Linked DNA regions of Homo sapiens: region 1 is linked to region 2. Evidence: promoter capture Hi-C in 16 types of primary human blood cells and fetal thymus (Javierre and others, 2016). All regions are on one chromosome and are shown on one strand. The core of a region is centred on a gene start or on the middle of the fragment in contact, and the rest is flanking DNA. Distances in the headings are between cores, read along the strand shown. Region 1 has its middle 15 kb from the start of MAPRE2. Region 2 holds the start of INO80C (INO80 complex subunit C).

The links. The method cuts DNA at HindIII sites, captures the fragments that hold promoters and counts their contacts. A CHiCAGO score of 5 or more calls a contact.
Region 1: a contact is called between a fragment that was not itself captured here and the fragment with the promoter of INO80C in region 2, in 1 of 17 cell types (fetal thymus). The highest score is 5.6, in fetal thymus.

The regions. Positions count from the first base shown.
Region 1 is chr18:35,023,998-35,029,134 of GRCh38, forward strand. It overlaps a transcript of MAPRE2 not described here. Among named protein-coding and RNA genes, the nearest start is that of MAPRE2, 15 kb to the right of the region's middle. The HindIII fragment of the contact is 482 bases long and covers 1,854-2,335 here.
Region 2 is chr18:35,494,551-35,499,352 of GRCh38, forward strand. It overlaps INO80C (INO80 complex subunit C), which reads right to left and starts at 3,410. Exons shown (of 5, transcript NM_194281.4): 1 at 3,169-3,410. The coding sequence starts at 3,324. RefSeq lists enhancers at 2,428-2,577, 2,848-2,967, 3,318-3,587. The HindIII fragment of the contact is 4,638 bases long and covers 1,064-4,802 here.

The DNA of each region.
Region 1 (5,137 bases), core at 845-3,344, 470 kb before region 2:
CAAATATACTACCATAAAGAACCACCGTAGGGCACAGTAAAAAATAAGTTAAATAACATAATTTTTTGGTCATAATGTTCATATAAACAAAGCGTTGATGCTTCAGGCTAACAGTGTATGCTGGCTCTATCAGACACCTTTCAATGATTTGGTTTGTAGCAGGGGGAAAGTGCCCAAGTGTTATTGCATTAGAAGCACTCAGAGTTCTGGAGCTATCTTGTTCTGGTACCATGAGCTGGGATTTTTAGCAACTTTCAGGTCTTTGTCCTCGTTCCTAAAGGTTTTTAAACTCCTAACTTGAAACTAGGAGGAATAGAGATTTTCTCCAACCCCTCTGTAAATGATGAACTCTGTGTCCCTCTCCCTTTTATTCATGCTCTGACAGCATCCTTGACTCATGAAGTATCTTTTGCAATAGTTGCTGAAAGCCTTTTGACTATAAATGCTGTTTTCTTCAGAATGAAGTAGAACAAAGCATTTTATGCAAATGAACCTATTTCAGTTCTATTGATAACGATATAACTTGCTTTTATTCAGTAAATGAAGAAGAGAATCTGAAGATGAATAAAATTTACTACGAGTATCTGCAGATCAGGATCTGAAAGTTAATTTAACCTTCATTTCCCATTTTGGAGAGAATTATAATCATGCAAAAATTTGGTTCTTACATTTGCCTGGCTGATATTCAAGGGGAATTTAGAAATAGACCTTTTCAGTAAATTTAGTATTGTCCTTTATATCATAGACAATGTTAAGGATGGCAACATCTCTCATTGCTATAGGACATTCTCTTTTGTCAGATAAACTAGTGCTAACCTCTGAGGGGACTGATTCTTTAATTCGTTGCTGCTTGTTTTCTTTCTCCATGTTGTGAGTAGCTATTAATACAATGATGAATTTGCTTGGAGGGTGAGTGAGAAAAATATAAAAAAATACAGGTTAACTATAAATTTTAGAATTATATAATTGGGAAACACTAGAGGGTTATTCTGAAGTCTTTTTAGTGAAATCCAGCTTCTCACCTTGATTAGTACTAGCAAAGCCATATTTCTACTCTTGATCAAATGTGTCCTTTATAGAGTATTTGTACAAAGCATGACATAAGCATGGATTTGCAGCTGTTTCATAACCACTGTGAAGTTTCTTGGCTCTGCTCCACAGCACTGTGTCCAAGTTTCAGGAACTCTTCTCAAGTACTGTGAATGTGGAAGGAGGCCACTTGTGGAATGATTTACTTTACCCAGAGTTGAGTGTTTTGCGTGCAGAATGTGAAGCTGCTGTTCAGCCTGTTGTGTCCAAATGTAAGTGACTGGCCAAAGAAACTTTTTTTGGAGCTTGTCATCCAGCCTCAAAACTTACCCTCTGTGGATCTTTGCATGTTCTAACCATCAATAGGAAATAGCAATGCTATAACTTTTCATTTCTTCCAGCCAATAATCCCCTATGAATTTTTTAGCTGATATTTTAATGAGCTTAAAACATTGTGATTCTGACTTTAATGATGTACTCGATTGTAATTAAAGCAGTTATAAAGATGAGACAGTCGTGGCTGAATGTTCCCAACTCTATGTGCTCTTCACCCTAGGAGGACAGGGACTCAGAGGTAACAACTCGGATACTGTTAACATTTACATCATCAGAATTCATTTCACTAAATTGCCGTCCTCTCTGTAGTTTTTTAATAAAGCAAGCTGAAGTTATTTTCAAACAGTAGCTTAGAAGTCTAGCAGTTCCACTGAACATAGTCCAGTGGAATAATCAGATGTAGTAATAGATTCTTCCAAGAGCATTTATGAAGGATTCCAAATAGGAATGTTTACAGGTTCTTCTCTTTGTTTACCAAGTACAGAGGAAGCTTTGCTTATGCTGATACCAGGTGGCAAAACTAACATTCCAGGTTAGGCCGAAACCAAATTCAATCTTACTCTTTCTATACACGGTGGGGCATAAGTTTCTAAAGGTAGTTAGGTTTTACAGTGCCAAAAGAAAAACTTAGAATTTTTGTCTTGAAATGATAGGGAACCCCTGAAGACTTCTAAAAATGAAAGGAGGGAAGATAGAGCTGGTGGTGAGATGTGAATTGATTGTGAAGCAAGGAAACCTCTCTAGAGAGACTCATGAGGTAGGTGAGAGGAAGGAGCGTGTCTGAAGCAGGGTGTGAGCAGCGGGAGAGGAATGGGCAGGACATACCTGTCCCCCTGTGAAATGAACAGGTATGATGTCTGAATCAGACAGATGGGTAGAGAGGGAAAAACATTCTGAGGATTCAAAGCTAAGTGCTGGCTATCAGTTTAGCTCAAGCAGGAGATCTGGAGAGGGAGCCAAGTAGGAGAGAAGCTTCCTCATTAAATGTACTGTGTATTGTCTAAACCAATGGCCGCAACCTAATTTCTGTGCATGCCTCTGACCTGCTTATTCAGCAAGTGAGAGAATGCAGCGATGAATATGGACACCACACCACAGTCTCACATTTTTACAAGGTGCTTTTGGAAACCTGAATGGAGATTTGACTTTTTTTTTTTAGTTGCTTCCATGGCAACCCTCCCCATGAAAACAGGCGCAGTCTGCAGAGGCCTGTTCTTTTCTGTTGATGTTTGTCACTACCACATGGGGTCAGGTTTGTTCTTTCTCCCTCCCCAAAAATATTTGCTAGCTCTGTGGAAAAACTGCTGTTGCCCTAAACAGTTTACCTGCATCTGTACCCCGCTGTTCCTGTGCCAAGGTGACTAGGGACCTTCTGTGTGGCTTTGGCATCCCTCAGTTTCCAGATATAAAGCAGAGGACAGGTTCCCTCTACTCTCAAATTCCCATGGGCATGGCTGGGGATAGGAGAGCAGGCAGAGTCCCTCTTCAAGGACACTCACCAGCTCCTAACCCAACATCTCTAACCAGTCATGTAGTCTTGTGGCTTATAGTACGAACTTTAGTTTCTGAATCTTTGAAAGATCTTAAGCTTTTGATACTTGAAAATGAGACTCTGAGGCTCATAAACATTTCTTCAGGGTTTTTTCTCTGCCATGGGCTTACAAGTTGATTTTGAAACTCCGAAGTTGAACATTCATTCTTTTCTTCCTCTCTTGCATTCCTGCCCCATGCTGAAAACTCAGCGAGTAAAGAAGGTTCAGCAGGTGTGTGTGGCAGGTTTTCCAAAGTGGGTTACTACAATCTCTCCCATCCCACAGGTTTTCTTGCAGTGTGAGATTGACATTCCTCCTAGTTATGTTACCAGTGGTGTTGATAGCCCTTCCTCTTGAATCTGGGTGGAACTTTGTGGCAGCCCTGACCAGCAAAATACAATGGAAGTGATGCTCTGTGACTTCCAAGACTAGGTTTTAAAACTGCCATGCCCTTCTGCCTGCTCATTAGGGATGCTTGTGCTAGGAACCCAGCCACCATGCTGTGAGGAGCCCAGGCCACATGGGGAAGCCTTGCATAGGTGTTCCAACCAGAGCCCCAGCTGAGGCCCCAATTAAAAGGCAACGTCAGCCACCAGTCATGAGACTGAGGAAGCCTTTATGAAGACTTCAGCAGTCAGTCACCTTCCAACCATAGCTACATGAGAGACCATGGGTGACAACCACCTAGCCAAGCCCAGTCAACCTCCAGAATGACAAGAGATAATAATAAAATGATTATTGCTATTTTAATCCACCAAGTTTAGAGTCACAATAGAGAACCAACAGGGTTTTTCTGTTATCTGTTAATGCATAACAGCCTACCACAAAACTTATTAACTTAAAATAACCATTTGTCCTACATTATGGTTTTGTGGACCAGGAGTTCAGGAAGGTCTTGGTTAGGTGGGTCCTTTCTAATCCATATATCCATATAGTGTCAGCTGTGGTGGGTGAAGATGCAGGATGCTTCCTCAGTCACATATTTGGAGCCTTGGTACTCTTTGTGGTCTCTCCTCTCTTCCCCTCCCTCTCCATGTGTCCCACCCTCTGGGCCTCTCTACATGGTTGGTACTTCCCCCAGAGTAGCTAGACTTCTCACAGGGCAGCAGACCTGCCTTCTTACAGAGCAGCATGGTAGTCCCAGGGTAGCTGAACTTCTCACAGGGCAGCTGACCTTTAAGAGACAAAGGCAAAAGCTGCCTGTCATTGTAAGGTCTAGGTCAAGAACTGGTCGGCATCATTTCTACCAAAATCTATTGATCAAAGCTGCCACCATGATTCAAAGGGAGGAGAAATAAATCCAACCTCTAGAATGGAAGGGTAAGAAAAAATTATGGCCACAGGGGCAAGGCAGGAACCTAGGTTTATATCTCAAAATGTTACCTTACAAATCTTATTATACCTGTTTTATGGGTGAAGAAGCTGAAGCTAGAGGAGTTAAGTAATTTGGCCAAGGTTACACAACTTGTAAGCACTTGGATTCAAATCCAAAGCATATGCATCAAAACCATGAACTCTGAATTTTGCTATTCTTCTATGCAAAATATAGTAAATATATAATGTATACTATATTTTCTTAATTCCCCAGTACTAACTTTTATAAGGAAGATAACATCCCCCAACCCCCCAAACACATACACATTACAGCTCTAATTTTAGAAAAACCTAGAGAACTATTCTAAATGACCTGATTTGGGTCATAGGCCTATCTCTGCATCAATCCTCAGGGTCTGGAGGATGGAATAATTATATTTGGCAAGCTCTGCTACAACCACAAGGATTGAAGAAATAATTTCCCGAAAGAGGGAGGAGCAAACAAAATAATGTTCACTGTGCATGCTCTTTATACTGCAAGCCATTATTTCTCATTCATGATTTCATTGCATCATTGAAGGCAGATAGGATCTGTCCCAGTGAGACTGGAATTGTGGGCTGGTGGGAATGGCGTGAAGACAGGCTGTGTAGAGAAGTTCATTCCAAGCATTGATTCTAGATCTATCAGCTAACTATTAACTCATTATGTCTCACATATTAAGACTAAGACCTCTGGTTTTCCTAGGGGGCTGATTCCTTTATGTAGAAGTTAAATGGAGGCTTCTTAAAGGAGGCCCATTATGTTTTCATGTGCTACACTATGCAGTTGGACCCTTCATTTCTACTTTCTGTACATGTTGAGTCAATGTGAATTGAGAATAGGAAGATGCTTGGTGTCTAAGCACTTGAGGAAACAAAACATAAGC
Region 2 (4,802 bases), core at 2,160-4,659:
GAACACGGGCAGCAGCTGACAGCCAGCAAGAAGACAGGGGCCCTGCAGTCCTGCCGCCCCAAAAGAACAGAATTCTGCCAACAACCTGAATTCACCTGCATGCAAATTTCTCCCCAGAGCCTTCAGACAAGAACTCGGCTAACACTTTGATTTCAGCTTTGTGATACCCAGAGCAGAGAGTCAACCCAGTTGCATTGTGTCAGGACTTCTGACCTACAGAACCATGAGCTACTAAATGAGTGTTATTTAAGCCACTAAATTTGTGATAATTTGTAATGACAGCAGTAGAAAACTAAACACAATGTATATACGTCATTCTCTCCTGGGATGTTTTTGGTAGTGTGGGGACAAGCTATAATCCTTTGAAATGTCTTAAGCATACTGCTGGGGATGGAACAGAAACAGTACAATAAATTACTGCTACATGAACTGAACTGAAACAGAACAGAAAGGTTGGGCAAGTGACACAGATGAGGGTGACCTCAAGAAGATTCCTGGCAGCCCTCAGGGGTACTGTGCTTATGCCTGCTTATTTCCTATACGCTGTGAAAAGGGAACTAGAATGAAAGGATCACAGCAAGGCAAAAATCTAAGACAACCGGGCACAGTGGCTCATGCCTGTAATCCCTAAACTTTGGGAGGCCAATGTGGGCAGATTGCTTGACCCCAGGAGTTTGAGACGAGCTTGGGTTATGTGGTGAAATTCCACCTCTACCAAAAATACAATGGTGGCATGCACCTGTCGTCCCAGCTACTTGGGAGGCTGAGGTGGGAGGATCCACTGAGCCAGGAGGTCGAGGCTGCAGTGAGCCATGATTGTGCCACTGTCCTCCAGCCTGGGTGACAGAAGAAGACCCTGTCTTCTTTAGTAAATATCAGTTGGGAAAAGGAGAGTCAGGACAAAAGAAGGCACTATTTCATGAAATGCTCTGCCCTTTCCAGCTTCTCCTGAGGCTGCTGCTTGGATACAAAAAAGGCCCAGAGGGAATAGAGAGTTAAGATTTCCACCATATTGGATTACTGGGAATTTCCAGTCTCCTGAAGGCATTTGACCACTTTCAGAAGCTTGTGGTAGTGGAAGTTGATCAACAATCCCTTTGGGGTCAAAACAATTATTCCTACCCATATGTCCTAGTGACACTCCTTGGTCCTGGCACAACTGGTTATCAAAACGCACCAGTCGCAGGCTGGGAGCAATTACTCACAATACATACATCTGGCAAAGGAGTCTAATCAAGAAAGATAATGTAATGAACTTCTACACATCAATATAATTTTTTTTTAAAAGCCAATTAGAAAAAAATAATTAGGCACTCCACAAAAGATCTGGAATGTCCAACAAGCTCATGAAAAGTGATTGATATCATTAGCCATCAGAGAAACAAATTAAAACAAGGAGATACTACTACACACTCAACAAAATGGCTAAAAGTTAAAGACTGACAATGAAAGACTGACAATACTCTGTATTGTTGAGGATTTCGAGCAACTGGCACTCTCATACTTTGCCGGTAAGAATGCAAAAACAGTGCAACTACTTTGAGAAATACTGTTTAACAGTTACTGAGTTAAATGTATGCCTACCTTCTGACTCAGCAATTCCACTACTTCTCAAGAGAAATGAAAGCATCTATCTACACAAAGACTTGTACAAGAATGTTCAGAGCAGCTTCTGCACAAAGCCAAAAACTGTAAACGTTCAAATATTCATCGGGTGTATGTTTATACAATGCAACAGATGTACTAAACGACTCTCAAAAACATTGTCTCAAAAAGGAACCTAGACAGATGCAAAAGAATATGTTCCCTATTGTCCTGTATTATTCCATTTATATTATGTTCCAACCCAAAGTCAGTCTATTGTGAAGGGTGGCTGAACAGTGGGTAACTGTTAGGAAGGAAAGACAGTACTGACAGGAAAATGTCACCTGCTCTTAGAAATGCTATCTTGATCCAGGCAGTGGCCATAGGTGTATACAAATGTAAAAGGGCACTGGATCTGTAGTTTTGTTTTGTTTTGTTTTGTTTGCGATAGGCTCACTCTGTTGCCCAAGCTGGACTGCAATGGCACGATCATAGCTCGCTGTAACCTTGAAATCTTGGGCTTAAGTGATGCTCTTGTAGTTGGGACTAAAGGCGTGCACCATCACGCCCAGCTATTTGTAAATTTGGATGGGGGTTGGGGAGCAGGTCTCGAACTCCTGTCCTCAAGCAATCCTCTCACCTTGGCCTCTCAAAGTGCTGGGATACAGGCGTGAGACAGGATTCTTGAAGATCTGTGGTTCAGCCAGTATTCTTGAAAATTTGTGCATTGTACTCTGTGTAAATCTTACTATAGCAAAGTATTTAATATTAAAAGGTTAAAATAAAAAGCACTACCAATCACCTACAGAAGAAGGAACAAGATTTCTAGAACAGCCACTGACTGACTGGGTGAACGGTGGTGTCACACCATATGCTGAGGAGCACAAAGTAACACACTCTATCTCTGCTTTTTTGCTTTGAATAAAATGCAGGAGCCAGAGAAAACACTAATCAAGCCACTCCCTGCTGAAAATTCATTGCTGGAATTACGGAACCTAGATTGTTCAGAGGCCCTGACGTCTGAGCCAGGCGCTGAGCTCAGTGCCTTTACACTCATTACTTCATAACCTTAACAAGCCCATGAGTTAAGACCAAACCTGCCTTTGGATTGGGAAACCCAGGGTCAAAAAAGCACTTTTCTCAGGATGAGAGAAAGCATACTTATCAATACATCTTGTATTCATCCATGCAGGACATTACAGCGCTATGCGCCTCAAAGACACTGGGTAGATGTCTGCAGAATGGACGAGGGGAAGACACGCAAATTTCTGAATGACTGACACTCATTAGTCCTGAACCTCATGCTAAAGGCGACCTCGAGGGGAAGAGGCAGTCCTTCTATTAATACTAAGTCAGTAATAACCTCCCTACTTCTTCTTCTCTCCTTACAACACAAGGCGTTGTAAGCCCATGTGTCCAAACGAAGGGAAAGAGTAGTCATTCACTCCGCGGGGCAGCGTCTTTCAACCCCAACGGAGACCGCACGCGCAGCGCCCCACATTACGCACGCGCCCTGGCTCGGCTCCGCCCCGCCAAGTCCCGTTTCGCGACGCGCACGCGCAGCCTGGGAGCGCGACTGCGTACCTGCGCAAAGCTGGAAGCGGACGCTTTTTTCTTCTTACTGGCGCCATAGCCCCCGCCGCTGCTGCCATTGTGGGAAGGGCTGGCCGGCCTCTTCTTGCTGTTCCGGACTATTCCGGGAGTGGAAGTGGTGGCCACAATTGGAATTTGCGCCGCCATCGCACTCCGAGTCTTCCCCTGGTCCCCCCACCTTTTTCCCAGCGCGGGCCTTGGAACTTCCTTTCCGCTGTTACTTCCGTCTTGATGCTTGAAAACCCGGCCTGGACTCCAAGCTGTAGCTGGCTTCTCTCGGTGCAATCTAAAAGGCGGAGCTCGGAGTAGCCTGTGCCGTCGGGACGGGAAGATGTCAGCGGGCGTTGTCCTGCCACTCGGGCGCTCTGGGCGTGGGCCTTGGGTGGGGCACGTGCCTGGAAATCCCCATTGATAGAGGAATAGAAAATCTCCCAATCTTTTTAAGTAACTACGTTTTAAAAAATTAATGAGCGTGTTGTCTTTTCTCATATAGAAGAGTGATTACTTTTGATGTCTGTAAGCCTAAAGCTGGGGTCGTTCTCAGTAGACCGCCAAGCTACTGGCTTCTCCCTCTATCCCTCCCTGCCTTCCCACGCGGAAAAGGTTTGTATATAAATAGCGCCCAAATGGACATGAAGGGTAGAGTGGTTCTTAATCTCTCCCTTTTTTTTTTTCTTTTATTTGAGACGGAGTTTCGCTCTTGTTGTCCAGGCTGGAGTGCAATGGCGCGATCTCGGCTCACTGCAAACTCCGCCTCCCGGGTTCAAGCGATTCTCCTGCCTCAGCCTCCCGAGTAGCTGGGATCACAGGCATGTGCCACCATGCCCGGCTAATTTTGTATTTTTAGTAGAGACGGGGTTTCTCCATGTTGGTCAGGCTGGTCTCGAGCTCCCGACCTCAGGTGATCTGCCCGCCTCGGCCTCCCTAAGTGCTGGGATTACAGGCGTAAGCCACCACGCCCGGCCGGTTCTTAATCTCTTAGGATTCACAGACTCTTGAGCATGGAATCTGTGCTTCCTATCCCTGCCGCACACCCCCACCTCCCCACCACCCCATTAAATGTATACAGACACAGACAAAATTTTACAGATTTCAGGGAGGTCACAGATCTACTAAAACCTATTTAGGAACCTGAGTCCCCCTACCCGCCTTGTTCTTTGCCTCATTCTACCCTATATTTTTACAGAACCTTTGCGACATCATATAACTAAATGATTTATAATCGGATGGTTAATGTCTTTTTTGGCTCCTGCTAGAATGTAATCTGTATGAGGGAAGGGTCAGTTATGTCTTGTTAACTTATCAGTCCCCCCAATCACAGTACCTTGCAAGTCATTGGTGCATTATAAGTATTTTTAATGATGTATTTAACGAATGAACTAACTCCCTGCAGTGATTGGTGGAAGCTACTATGTTTGAATACAGGAAGTTGATGTATATGAGTCTTGATATTTGAAATAAACAGGCTGCACAATGACTTAGAGGTGAGAGAGAAGGAGCAGTTAGGGAAACTTGCAATATTGTTACTGACATATTTTTTCCTTTAGAGAAAGGAATAAGCCTACCAGTGTTGAAATGTTCTTTCCCACACCCCATCTCCATCCCTATCCTCATCTAAAGCTAGT